Regions from separate parts of the Homo sapiens genome. Here region 2 is linked to region 1. The links are contacts of gene promoters, found by promoter capture Hi-C in human tissues and cell types (Jung and others, 2019). All regions are on one chromosome and are shown on one strand. The core of a region is centred on a gene start or on the middle of the fragment in contact, and the rest is flanking DNA. Distances in the headings are between cores, read along the strand shown.

What was found. Contacts are between HindIII fragments. The study calls those that stand out against the background at their distance.
Region 2: a contact is called between a fragment that was not itself captured here and the fragment with the promoter of MMP21 in region 1, in 2 of the 25 tissues and cell types used here (mesendoderm cells and pancreas).

Annotation. Positions count from the first base shown.
Region 1 is chr10:125,773,277-125,779,265 of GRCh38, forward strand. It overlaps MMP21 (matrix metallopeptidase 21), which reads right to left and starts at 2,545. Exons shown (of 7, transcript NM_147191.1): 1 at 2,384-2,545; 2 at 555-1,089. The coding sequence starts at 2,545. The HindIII fragment of the contact is 11,499 bases long and covers 1-5,989 here.
Region 2 is chr10:125,727,460-125,733,448 of GRCh38, forward strand. EDRF1 (erythroid differentiation regulatory factor 1) reads left to right here. Exons shown (of 25, transcript NM_001202438.2): 7 at 1,544-1,645; 8 at 1,899-2,020; 9 at 2,829-2,940; 10 at 5,945-5,989. Among named protein-coding and RNA genes, the nearest start is that of EDRF1, 11 kb to the left of the region's middle. The HindIII fragment of the contact is 4,632 bases long and covers 1,195-5,826 here.

The DNA of each region.
Region 1 (5,989 bases), core at 1,295-3,794:
CATTCTGGGTGCCTTTTTGTGGGTATCCCAGATCCCACCCATCCTTGAGTCTAGGCCAAGACCGGATTCCTGGGGACGCCAGCACCCAATTTCAGGTGGCAGTGATCCTCTTCTGCTTGGTCTGCCCCTTAAAAACACTTCTGTTGCTAGACGTCCAAGGTATTTTGTCCCGCATTTGTCCAATTGTAAGACGGAGGTGGTGGCAACTTGTGCCTGACCCTGCCCTGTCCTGAGACCCCAGCTGCTGCTCCCTAGGGAAGCTGGAGGCACAGGCAGGGGGCCCGAGTGGGACTTTGAGGAGCAGCCCGGGCAGCAGCCTGTGCCCAGGGCCGGCCCTAGTGTCCCAGTAGGCCACACCAGGCTATCTGCAGGGTGACCATGATTCCGACAAGACGACGCTGACCGGTGGCTTCTGCCTGCCCCGCTGACAGGTGCCCCCGGGACAGGCCGGGAGGGCTTAGCCCCCCATTCTGCAGGTGGCCGAGGTGGGGGTAGGTGCGCCGGGGTCCCCGAGGGGCTGGGTCGGGCAGGCAGGGAGCCCGGGGTGCTCTTACCTCTCCCAAAGCCCAGCTTGATGTCGACCGCGGCCCCGGGGGCGGCCAGGTCCTCGCGGAAGTCCAGCGGCGTCACCTCGCTCCACATCCTGAAGGCCAGCGCCACAATGCGCCGCTGGTCGGCCACGGACAGTTGGCTGCTCAGGGCCTCGCCCAGCAGCCGCCAGCTCAGCGTCCTCTTGGAGAAGGCCTGGGCAGCTCCGCCGTCGGGGTAGCCCCGGGGCTGCCAACCCCGCCGGGACAAGGACAGCGGCGCCCGCGGGGAGCGCCTGGAGCGGGCTCTGGGGGGCGGGCCCGGGGGCGAAGGCGGGGCGGAGGGGGGCGGTGGGCGCATGTCCGGGACCCCGCAGCGCGGCCGGTTCATGGCCGCTAGGGTGGCCGCGTCCAGCTCCCCGCTGGCCGGCAGCGCGTTCGCCCGCTGGAACCTGCGCACCGCCTCGGCCAGGGCGGCGCCCTTGGGGGTCTCCGGCGGCCCCTCGGGACTGGGCCCCCAGGCCGCCCACACCCCTGACCAGCCGTATCTGGACAGGAACCGCTGTGGGAGAGAAAGGCACCCTAATCTGGGCCGCCTCGCTCGGGGCCCTCCCGGGCTGCCCTGCCCCAAAGTCTAGAGAGACAGAGACATGGGGATAGAGACAGAGACAGAGAGAAGCAGAGAGACAGACAGGGAGAAACAGATGGAGATAGCAATAGAAACAGGAAGACAGAGAGAGATAGAGATACAGAGAGAGCGGCAGTGAGAGACAGAGACAGGAGAGAGGTAGACAGGAGAGAAGGAGCGAGTCCTGGGCGCCTTCCTGAGTGCGGGCCCTGGATGGGCACCAGGCTGAGTCAGAGGCGCCCTAGGGCCGGAGGAGCAGGAGACCTGGGCAGCGGGGTGGGCGAGTGCCGGGAGGAGGTAAGAGGTCGCGGGGGAGGAAGACGCTCCCCCCGGCCTTGCGGGGCAGGTCGCGCAGGGCAGGTCGTGCGGGGCAGGTGGGGGGTGCCAAGGAAGTCCGGGCGTGGCCACACCGCAGAGAAAGCCATGGGAGGCACGTCCTGAGAGCTGGGAATTGGAACTGAGGGGCTTGGCAGTGGTTGGGTCTGAGGACCTGGGGGGCTTCCTCATGGCCGCACAGCGGGAGGGAGGTCAGCGGCCTCCACGCGGCTGCGGGCCTGGCCACAGGGCGGCTCTCCTGCTCCCTGCCCTGGCCTCTGGGGCACTGTGGGAGCTGGGGATTGGACTTGACCCTGAGCATCAGCTCCTGGCCTATGGTGACCAAAGGACCACGTGCCAGAGCAGGTGAAGGGGCCTCATGGGTCCACTCCCTGCCCGCCACCACGACTCTCTGGAGGAGGGGATCGCCTGCATTGGACCTCCTGGGTGCTTCACCACAGACTCCGGTGAAGTCCACGGATGCCACCCCAGACAGCTGTTAGGATCCTTACTATTGCGGTGTTGGGGAACCTTGCAGGGCTGTCCCCTTCTCTACATCCAGAGATTGGCATGGTGAGCAGCCACAGAATGCCTTCGGACAGTGCCTTGGCCACTACAGTATCACATGCTTGCCTTTGGAAAGGCACTTGGCATTTGAGTCTGTTGTCTGCGCACTGACATTTCTTTCTCACTAGGGCTGACCTGTGGGATTGTCGAATCAGGTTAAGCATCGATTCATGGTTGTTCCAATAGGAGCCACAGGAGCCACTCCTCCCTCTCAGCCCAGCCTGCCTGGCCCTTCTCTGCCTCTGCACAGCCGGCATCCTGGCCTGTGCCTGTGCGCGCGTGCGCATGTGCCTGTGTGCACGTGCACGGGCCTGGGGGTATTGCTGTTCTTCCAGCTTCCTCCTACCTGAGCAGCGTGGAGGTCGGCAATGGGCTTGGCCTGGCGCAGTGGGGACGGCTCCAGGTCCGAGCGGTCCCGGCTGTGGAAGAGACTCTCGGGCTGGGTGGGCCAGGGAGCAGCCAGCCAGCAGAGCAGCAGTGTCGGACGGAAGATGGAGGCGGCGAGCATTGGCCTGGTCTGAACCCTTGCCCTCCCTGCCTGGCTTCTTCCCCGTCCCCGTCACCTCTCCTTAAGGAGCAGGACCTAGGGTGGCTTTTATAAGCTACGCAGGAGGGAGCACCCAGGTTTCCAAGCATTTCTCACCCAGCCCTGAAGTGTGCCCGCTAGGAGGCCACGTGGCAGGCCCTGGGCGTGCTGCCTTTGAAGACCCCAGGCTCACCTTTCTTGTTGGTGTGAGAACTCCTTCTCTCAGCCTCCAGAGTTTGCCATGTCCTCCGATAATTACATCCTCCAGTTGCCAGTGCCTGTGGGTTCCATTTCTATGGAGATATACTGCGGGCAAGTTTGCCGCTAAATGAGCTGTGGAATTAACAGAGGCACGAGACTGCGCCCCTAACAACATGCCTCTCAGAGCTGAGCCTGAGTTTAAAAACCCTGACCGTTAGTTTGCTTACAGTTTGGGTCACTTTTTTTTTCTTGGTGAACTGGGGTTTGGAGATTTTTAGTTTGTTTCTCACACATTTTTTGTGTGGCTTTTCTTCTTTTTGTTTATCTTTATATAAAGGAGATCTTCTGAGCAGATAGTATAAATTGTAAAAGTACTGAGAATGAAGGAGACATTCTGTGATTCCGGTGGTGACATTTCAGTGAACATTCTTGCAGATACATATGCACAGATGCCTAGAGAAGTATTTGTGTGTGTCTCTCATTTTACATGAACTCTATTCTCTGTTCTTACAAGCCAGCACAACGTTACAGGCACTTTTCTGTTTCTGAATGTAAGTATTTATCGTTCTAGTTAATGACTGCACAGCGTCCCATTCTGTGGGTAAAGATTTTTATAGAAGGATAAACTAGAATCACCTCAGCCCACTACTTTTTCCCCTCATGGAGAAGCCTCAAGTTTCTTTGGGATCCTGAAGACAGAGCCCCTGAACTGGGCTTTTATCTGAGCAGATGTCCTCCTGAGAGTGCAGACTGACTGGGTCACAGCCGTCCATGGGAATATTGAGAATCATAGAAATACGGAGAGGCCAGGTGCAGTGGCTCAGACCCATAATCCCAGCGTTGCGGGAGGCTGAGGCAGGAGGACTGAGGCCAGGAGTTTGAGACAAGCAAGGGCAACAAAATGAGACCTCATTTCTATCAAAAAATGTTTAAAAATTAGCTTGGCATCGGCCGGGCGTGGTGGCTCACACCTATAATCCCAACACTTTAGGAAACCAAGGTGGGTGGATTGCTTGAATCCAGGAGTTCAAGACCAGCAAGAGTTCAAGACCAGCCTGGGCAACATGATGAAACCCCATCTCTACTAAAAATACAAAAATTAGCCAGGTGTAGTGGCATGCGTGCCAATAGTTCCAGCTACTTAGGGGAGCTGAGGCTGGAGGATCACTTGTGTCCAGGAGGTTAAGACTGAAATGAGCCGAGATCACGTCACTGCACAACAACTTGGATGACAGAATGAGACCCTGTTTCAAAAGGAAAAAAAAAGTGGATAGAGTGATGTGTGCCACTTGCAGGCCTGAACTCTAAGACCACCCTCCTATTCTCTGTGATTTCTCTTCCCTCAACTCCTGACCAGACGCAGAGCCTCCAGCAGAAGTGGCTTGGATCCCTGAATCCCCCTGTGGAAGGCCACCCTCAAACCCTTGACTGCTCTGTGACAGGAGCAAGAAACACAACTGTATTGCGTGGAGCCTAAGATTTGGGGTTGGTGGGTGCAGCAGTTAGACAACCCTAATACAGGCCACTAAATGCTTAGTCTGTCCCCAGAAGGACCTGTAACATGCTCCTCATTCCCTAACACCTGTCTCCAGTAGAGACTACAGCTTGCCCTTTCCTCCCTGGTGAAGGCTGCACAGGTCAAAGAGCAGGATGGGTTTTCCTGTCCCTGATGGCTGCCTCCACTCAGGGAAGTGCCCTGCTCCTGTGAGCCTCATGACAGTTTTCTGGGTCACTTCCAGCCTTCCTAGTAGCTGTCCTCTCCCCAAGACGCATTCGCCCCTTTTCTTGCAGGGTTCTCCTGTATTCCATGTCCTTCCATTGTCCTGGACCCTGGCATCCCTGTGAATGACTGGTGCATTGCTCTGACCTCCCTCTCCGTGACTGTGATCTGAAGATTCTCACCTCCACTCCACTCGAGTCACCCGTGGCCTGGCCTCGCCTGGCCCAGCCCTGGCACCCCCTGCACTGCTGCGCCTCTGATCCCACAGGCATAGGCAGCCCCTGATGCCCACCGCTGGCTCTCCTCGGAGCTTCTCACCCTCTTGTCCCTATCACTGGCCCTCTGACCCCCAACTGCACTGAGGGTCCTGAGGGTCCTTCTGCCTCACCCACCTAAGTTGTCTTGGATCCTTGGTTTTTACCCTGTCCAGCTCAGATCCCACAGATGCCGACCAAGCCCTTGCCTGAGAGCCTCCTACCACCCCTGCACTGGGGGCCGCACCCTGGGCGGATCTGGCTTTCTGTTTCCTCCATCTTGCTGAGCACTCATTTGCTCATCCATTTGCTCATCCATTTCCTTTAAACTCATGACTACAGCCCCTTCCCCGTGGGCTCCTGCACTGCACAGCAACCCCCGCATCTCCCACTTTCCTGAGTGTTTCCTTTCCTCCTCTCTTCTTGGTGGGTCACACACAGCCCTGAGGTGCTGACTCTCGGGGCAGGGGAAGGGCAGAGTATGAGAAGGAAAAAGTAAGTAGAGGTTCAGGTTCGCTGCAGGAATTTCTACCCCAGTATCCAGAGGGCTTGCAGGAAATGAATTAAAGTTCTTTGGGCACTGTGATTTTGCAGATGAGAACTGAGAATTTTATGTCAAAGGTCTCCAAGAAGAGCAGGTGTGCACAGGCCTGTGTGGGGCTATCCGTTAGTTATTCATTCAGTCATCATGCAGCAAATATTTATTACTGTCCTAGCGACAGGGAATACAGAAATGAACATGACGAATTCATTCCCTACCATATTAGTCAGGGTTCTCTAGAGGGACAGAATTAATAGGGTAGATATATTAAGTAGTATTAACTCACACGATCACAAAGTCCCACAATAGGCCATCTGTAAGCTGAGGAGCAAGGAAGCCAGTCTGAGTCCCAAAGCTGAAGAACTTGGAGTCCGATGTTCCAGGGCAGGAAGCATCCAGCACAGGAGAAAGATGCAGGCTGGGAGGCTAAGCCAGTCTAGTCTTTTCATGTTTTTCTGCCTGCTTTGTATTCTAGGAGCTGATTAGATGGTGCCCACCCAGATTAAGGGTGGGTCTGCCTGTCCCAGCCCACTGACCCAAATGCTAATCTCCTTTGGCAACACCCTCACAGACACACCCAGGATCAATACTTTACATCCTTCAATCGAATCAAGTGGACACTCAGTATTAACCATCACACCTACCCTCATGGAATGTAGATCCTAAGTAGGGAAGACAGACAATAAACAAAAAAGAAATGAAAAATTCCA
Region 2 (5,989 bases), core at 2,261-4,760, 45 kb before region 1:
GAGCCAGACATTTATTGAGAACGTTGTAACCTAGAGCTCATACTCTGACTAAAGCAACTGCCTGGCAAACTGTTTTGAGAATCGGTTCATGAGTTGATAACTTGTCTGTGTAAACAAATAATAAAATAAAAAAGAGTTTAAAGTTCTCTTAGGACTCCTGAGGGAGAGGACAAGGCACAATAGAAGTGCTAGAGAGCCACCTGTGCTTATAGTCACACACTCTTCCCAAGCAGGTGCCAAGCCTACTGGCACACACAGATGACAAGTAAGACAGATGTTTGTGGAATAAGCAACACACGCATGCCTGTCTTGGGTTCTGTTGAGGCAATGACATTAAAAGCTTAAAGTAGTATTTCTTAATGGCAGTACTACTTTCCTAATGATTGGAAAATTGAGTGGTAGGCTGAGTTTACCCAGTGTCAAGAGGGCCCAAGTGTATTCCAAAATGCATTCCAGGCTGGGCGCAGTGGCTTATGCCTGTAATCCCAGCACTTTGGGAGGCCGAGGTGGGTGGATCACTTGAGGCCCGGAGTTAGAGACCAGCCTGGCCAACATGGCGAAACCCCATCTCTATTTAAAAAAAGAAAAAAAAATTAGCCGGGCATGGTGGCACGTGCCTGTAATCCCAGCTACTCGGGAGGCTGAGGTAGGAGAATTGCTTGAACCCAGGAGGCGGAGGTTGCAGTGAGCTGAGATCATGTCACTGCACTCTGGCCTGGGCAACTCTGTCTCAAAAAAAAAAAAAAAAGTATTCCAGAGAATATCTTAAGAACAAAAAGTGTTCTGAGATTAAATACATTTGGGAAACATTGGTTTTTACAAAGATAAAGTAGATTTTTCTATTGCAGGATTACTTATTATATATTTATTGTTTTAATATCAATAAATATTGTTACTCCACAAAAGTGAGTACCTGGTAAACGTCATCTTTCAAACCTGACTCTGGAAAATTTTCATTCAGTTTCCCAGGAACTAGTGTTCTGTGAAACACTCATCAGGAAATGCTAAACTGGAGACTGTTAAGATAATGAGTATCTCAAACTGTGGCTGAGTAAGATTTCTTAGGGTTTCTTTTTTTTAAGAGACAGACTCTCATTATGTTGTCCAGGCTGGATTCGAACTCCTGGGCTCAAGCAGTTCTCCCCTGTCGACCTCCCACATAGCTTGGACTACAAGCACATGCCATCGTGCCTGGCCAGTTTCTTAGGAATTTTTAAATTCAATATAGATAGAGTAGGCTGAAAGAGCAGTGGTAATCAGATGCACCAAAAAAGAGAAAAATGAAAAACTTAGAAAGTTTAGAATAATCTTTAATCTATCTCTCTTGAGTAAGATCTAAATGTGATTCGCTTCTTATAGTAGCTATGATCATTAGCCAAAGCAAGCCACCCAATGAGGCGTGTTATTATTTGTATTGGCCTAATAATTCACAATGGTAGATTTGAAGTGTGTGCTTTGAATATTTAGGTGATACTCTCAAAAGTGGGTCAATTTTAAGAAATGTTGACAGCAGAATCACTCCTTATCCTTGCACTTTTCACAGGGAAGTGAGCCTCTTGAACCCTCATACATAGTGGGGCATGTGGCCTCAGCCCCCAAAGAACAAAACCTGATTACTTTATTCAATGACGGGGAGCACAGTCAGGTATGCTTTCCATGGTGTCCAAGGTGACAGCAAATCCCCAGTCTACTTTGTCATTTCAAAACTAGCCTAAGTCGAAATTGATAGGGAAAAACTCCACTTGATCCTGAAACTGCTTTCTAAGCATCTTTGTGATCTTAGCTCTGGGGCCTGACTTTGTCTTCTTTGTCTCTTCCTTTTTCTAGTCTTTTTATGGATCATGGGGGGAAATTACAGATTGACTGTTTATTATAATCCTCCCTATTTTAAATCACAGGGTCTTAAAAATGATTTTGTTCGGAATATTCTATGGACATTTGAAGATATCCATATGTTGGTCGGCTCCAACATGCCCATATTTGGAGGAGGCAGATACCCAGCAGTCAGCTTACGTCTCAGGTGAACTAACATCATACCCCTCCTCAAGCTTATGGTATTTAAATTCTTCCTTTAGAATCAGTGTTCCATCAGACTGAGGTTGCAGTGAGCCAAGATCATGCTACCGCACTCCAGCCTAGGCGAAAGAGCAAGACTCGTCTCAAAAAAGAATCAGTGTTCCATCTATTTGGGCATCTTCCTCTTTCTCTAGGTTTTTTCCCCTCCCTCCTTCCCCTGCCAGTTGAAATGGCCACATTAAGGAAGGAGCTACTGTCAGCAGATGCTGAAAGGCAGGCCTATAGCTGAGTCTTCATTCTAGACCTCATTGAATAGAGCCAGAGGTTTGTTGGACTGGCCTAGTCTTAGGTCTGAATCTACAACTTGTGAGAATATTCAAGAGAGTTTATTTAATTAGTTAGATTCCTACTAACTACTTGTGAGCATTTTTCTTAATGCTCCACGTGTATTTGTTGATATTAGCCAATGTGAATTCCAACTTAAGCATGGTCTTGTATGGTGTTCAGTCTTTCTTCAAGTTGTGTGTGAGGAGCAGGCAGTAGGCTCACCGTCCTTTCCTATTATATTGTCTTCTATTCTTACTGAAAACTTACCAATGTCAGTTAGAAATACAAGCAAGCTTTTGGAAAGATGTTAAATATAGCACAACCACTGAGCTGCATGTGCATATCTTATCAGAAAAGAAAGCATAGATGGCATTTTCTATCTAGAGAGGACAGCTTAAGATACTTAAATGGTGAAATAACTTTCAGATGATTAATTAAGGAACATCTTAATTAAACCAAATAACACTAGAAATGTATATTTTTAGGGATAACAACAAACCAATTAATGTGCTAACTGGAATTGACTATTGGTTGGACAACTTGATATGCAATGTGCCAGAGCTTGTGATGTGTTTTCATGTAAATGGAATTGTACAGGTAAGATACAGTGTGATTTTTCTGATCTCTCAAATGCAAATTGGTACAGAGAGTTCCTCACCAAAGTCTTTACGGCCCTGAAGTACTAAGGTGCATTTTTGCCAGGGAAGATAGCTGTGAATAAACTGAATTTGAGTGTACATTTAAGTTGGTGATAACAGAATTGTAGATGTTATAGAAGTATAATTTTACAGGTAATTTGGAGGAAGTTCATAAATATATGAAAACCTGCATTTGTAGCCATAGAACTCTAATTTTAATGCCAAGCTCTCATTAATAATTAACTGAAAGTGTCTACACAATGGAGGCGTTTCTTCGTTATGCAAATATCTACTCAGTACATGCAAAGTTTTAGGGAAAGGTCTTGTAAAAATTGCATATGGTGGATAGCTTATATAGCAAATTCTTATTGAGCATATTCTGTTTAGAAGACACGTATCCCCATTATAAGTGTTGGGGGAAGCTAGGCGTGTTGGCTTATTCCTGTAATCCCAAGCTACTCAGGAGACTGAGGCAGCAGGATCACTTGAAGCCGAGAGTTCAAGACCAACCTGGGCAACGTAGTGAGACCCTAATTGTAGAAAAACAACGCACACACTTAGTTGGGCATGGTGGTACATGTCTGTAGTCCCAGCTACTTGGGGGCTTGAAGCAGGAGGATCACTTGAGCCCAGGAGTTTGAGGCTGCAGTGAGCTATGATCGTGCCACTGCACTCCAGTATGAGTGACAGAGCAAGACCCTGTCTCAAAAAAATAAAAAAATTGAGAATTTAAACAATAAATAATTGTTGAAGGAAAACAAAGAATAAGCTTGGTTGTTATTCAGAAAGAGATAATCTAATGGGAAATAATATGCAGAGAGAACAGTAGGAGACAGATAAGAATTAGAAGTGTAGCACACAGAAATCTAGATCATCAGAGAAGGGGGTGAGCACTTCCATTCAGGTCTGGAGGAAAGACTTTGTGGAAGAAGGGACATCTTAACTGAGTCCTGAATGATAGCTAGTATCTCAAAAAATAAGAGCTGGATTTTAAAAGTCTAGTGTAAATACATGAAAGGATTGATAATAAATCCAGCTAGGGAACACAGGATTTATGTAGCAGAATAGCTGCAAGTAAGGTTGGAAAAGTCATGGTCAAATGATGGAGATCTTAAATGTTGAGCTAAGGAGTATGGACTTGGTTCAGTTGGTAATCTGGAATCAGAAGGCTTTGCATCTAGGAGGGGAAATTTGTTGTGTTAGAATATTAATTTAGAGATAGCATATAGGACAGAAAAGGAGGACTTAGAGACAAGAAAACCAGAGGCATTGTACCATTTTGCAGATAGTGTAATGTACTTTCCACTAGAGAGGAACTATTAAGAATCAACAATGGTAAGAATAGATAGCATTTATTGAGTGCTTATTTTATCCAAGCACTTTGCTGAATGCTTTAAATGCTTTACCTTATTTGATCTTCTTAGCTACCTCACATGCTGTTATTCCTATTTGATGGAAAGAGAGACTGAGGATCAAGGAGCTCAAGTGAGTTGCCCAGGGTCAACTTAGTAGTGAGTGGCGGTGCCAGTCTTTGTGCCTCTCTCTGGCTGAGGACATGCTTTGAACCGTTATATTCCAACCCAGTGATTCTTAACCTGGTTGTGCATCAGAATCACTTGTGGTCTCTGAAAAAATGCACTTGCTTGGGCCCCCAGTGTTCTAGTATCAGTAGGATGTGTACTTCTGTCTTTTCTGAAAGTCTGCTGTATGATTCTGGTTTGCAGTCTTGATTGAAAACCACTGTTAGACCATCTCCCTAAATGGCAACATTTAGTGAGAGGCTGGGGTGGGAGTGGGGAGCAAGAGAAAAGAGAGAGGCAGATAAAGCGTTAGCAAGGCGGAGGGGAACAGGAGTCAAAGGAGATTCCAGGGTTTAGGGACTAGAATAATGGTGGTGCCATTTAGTGAGATAAGGATGTTGAATTGGTTTAGACAGGGAAGGTAATATGTTTTTGTCACATGTTCAGTTTGAGGAAAGTATAAAAATGTCTAGTGAGCATTTTGAAGTTGCAGCCATTAGAGAAATAAATTGAAGCATCATCTGCCTAGATACTGTCAGATTTCATCACCAGAGGAATCTATTAAAATCAGACATTGGAGCCTCTCCTCATAGGGGTAAAAATAGAAGGGCATTTAGAGAGAGAGAAGGAGAACAAGAATAGCACAGATTAAAATACAGGAAAGGAGCATTTTAAGGAAGGAAATAATCAACATTGGGGACTTCACATGAACAAAGTGGGGTGAAAATCAACCTCAGACGATTGTGTTTGGTCTTACATTCCAGTTGATTTGAAGTTTCCAGTTTTAGAGTACTTCAGAAAATGTGGTAGGAGATGGTTAGGAGAGTGTGCACAGAAGATAAACAAGAAAAATGCAAAGGCACTTTTAAAATAGTGGTAGTAATGTCCATGAAGCCTTTACTCTTATTGCCACCTCCATTCCCCCCTGCTCCATCCCTGTGAAGTAATAAAGTCCATAGATGAAGGGAAGAGAGGTGTCTACTGGAAAATTTCCTAAATGATTCTCTCTCCTTGAGTCACTGACTGTAGTTTCTAGCAAAAAAAAAGGCCAGAAATACATGTGTTTTAAAATCTTGCTGGGTAAAGCCTACCTTCATTTACCATCTTCCCAGTTGAAAACCATTCAAGTGGAATAAAAGTAGTCAGTATGATTTGTTCCATGTTAGAACAGAAATAAGATCATGCCTGAATCTGAGGTTCTAAATCTGGTAGTGATTCTCCATTGAAATTACTCCAATAGTGAACTGCCCTTGCTGATGGGGTGGATGAGATTCCTTTGGGAGGCTGGGGCAGAAAAAAGATTAAAAACCACTGGTTTAAACACTTTCATGCTACATAGGTCTCTGTTTGCAGGACTTCTGCATTTGGTTGCTTTTTAAAAAGAAAGGTGTTGTTTCCTTGGGTTTTCTCTTAAACTGCTTTCCATCTGTCTGTATTTTACAGAAATATGAAATGATAAAGACAGAAGAAATTCCCAATTTGGAAAAT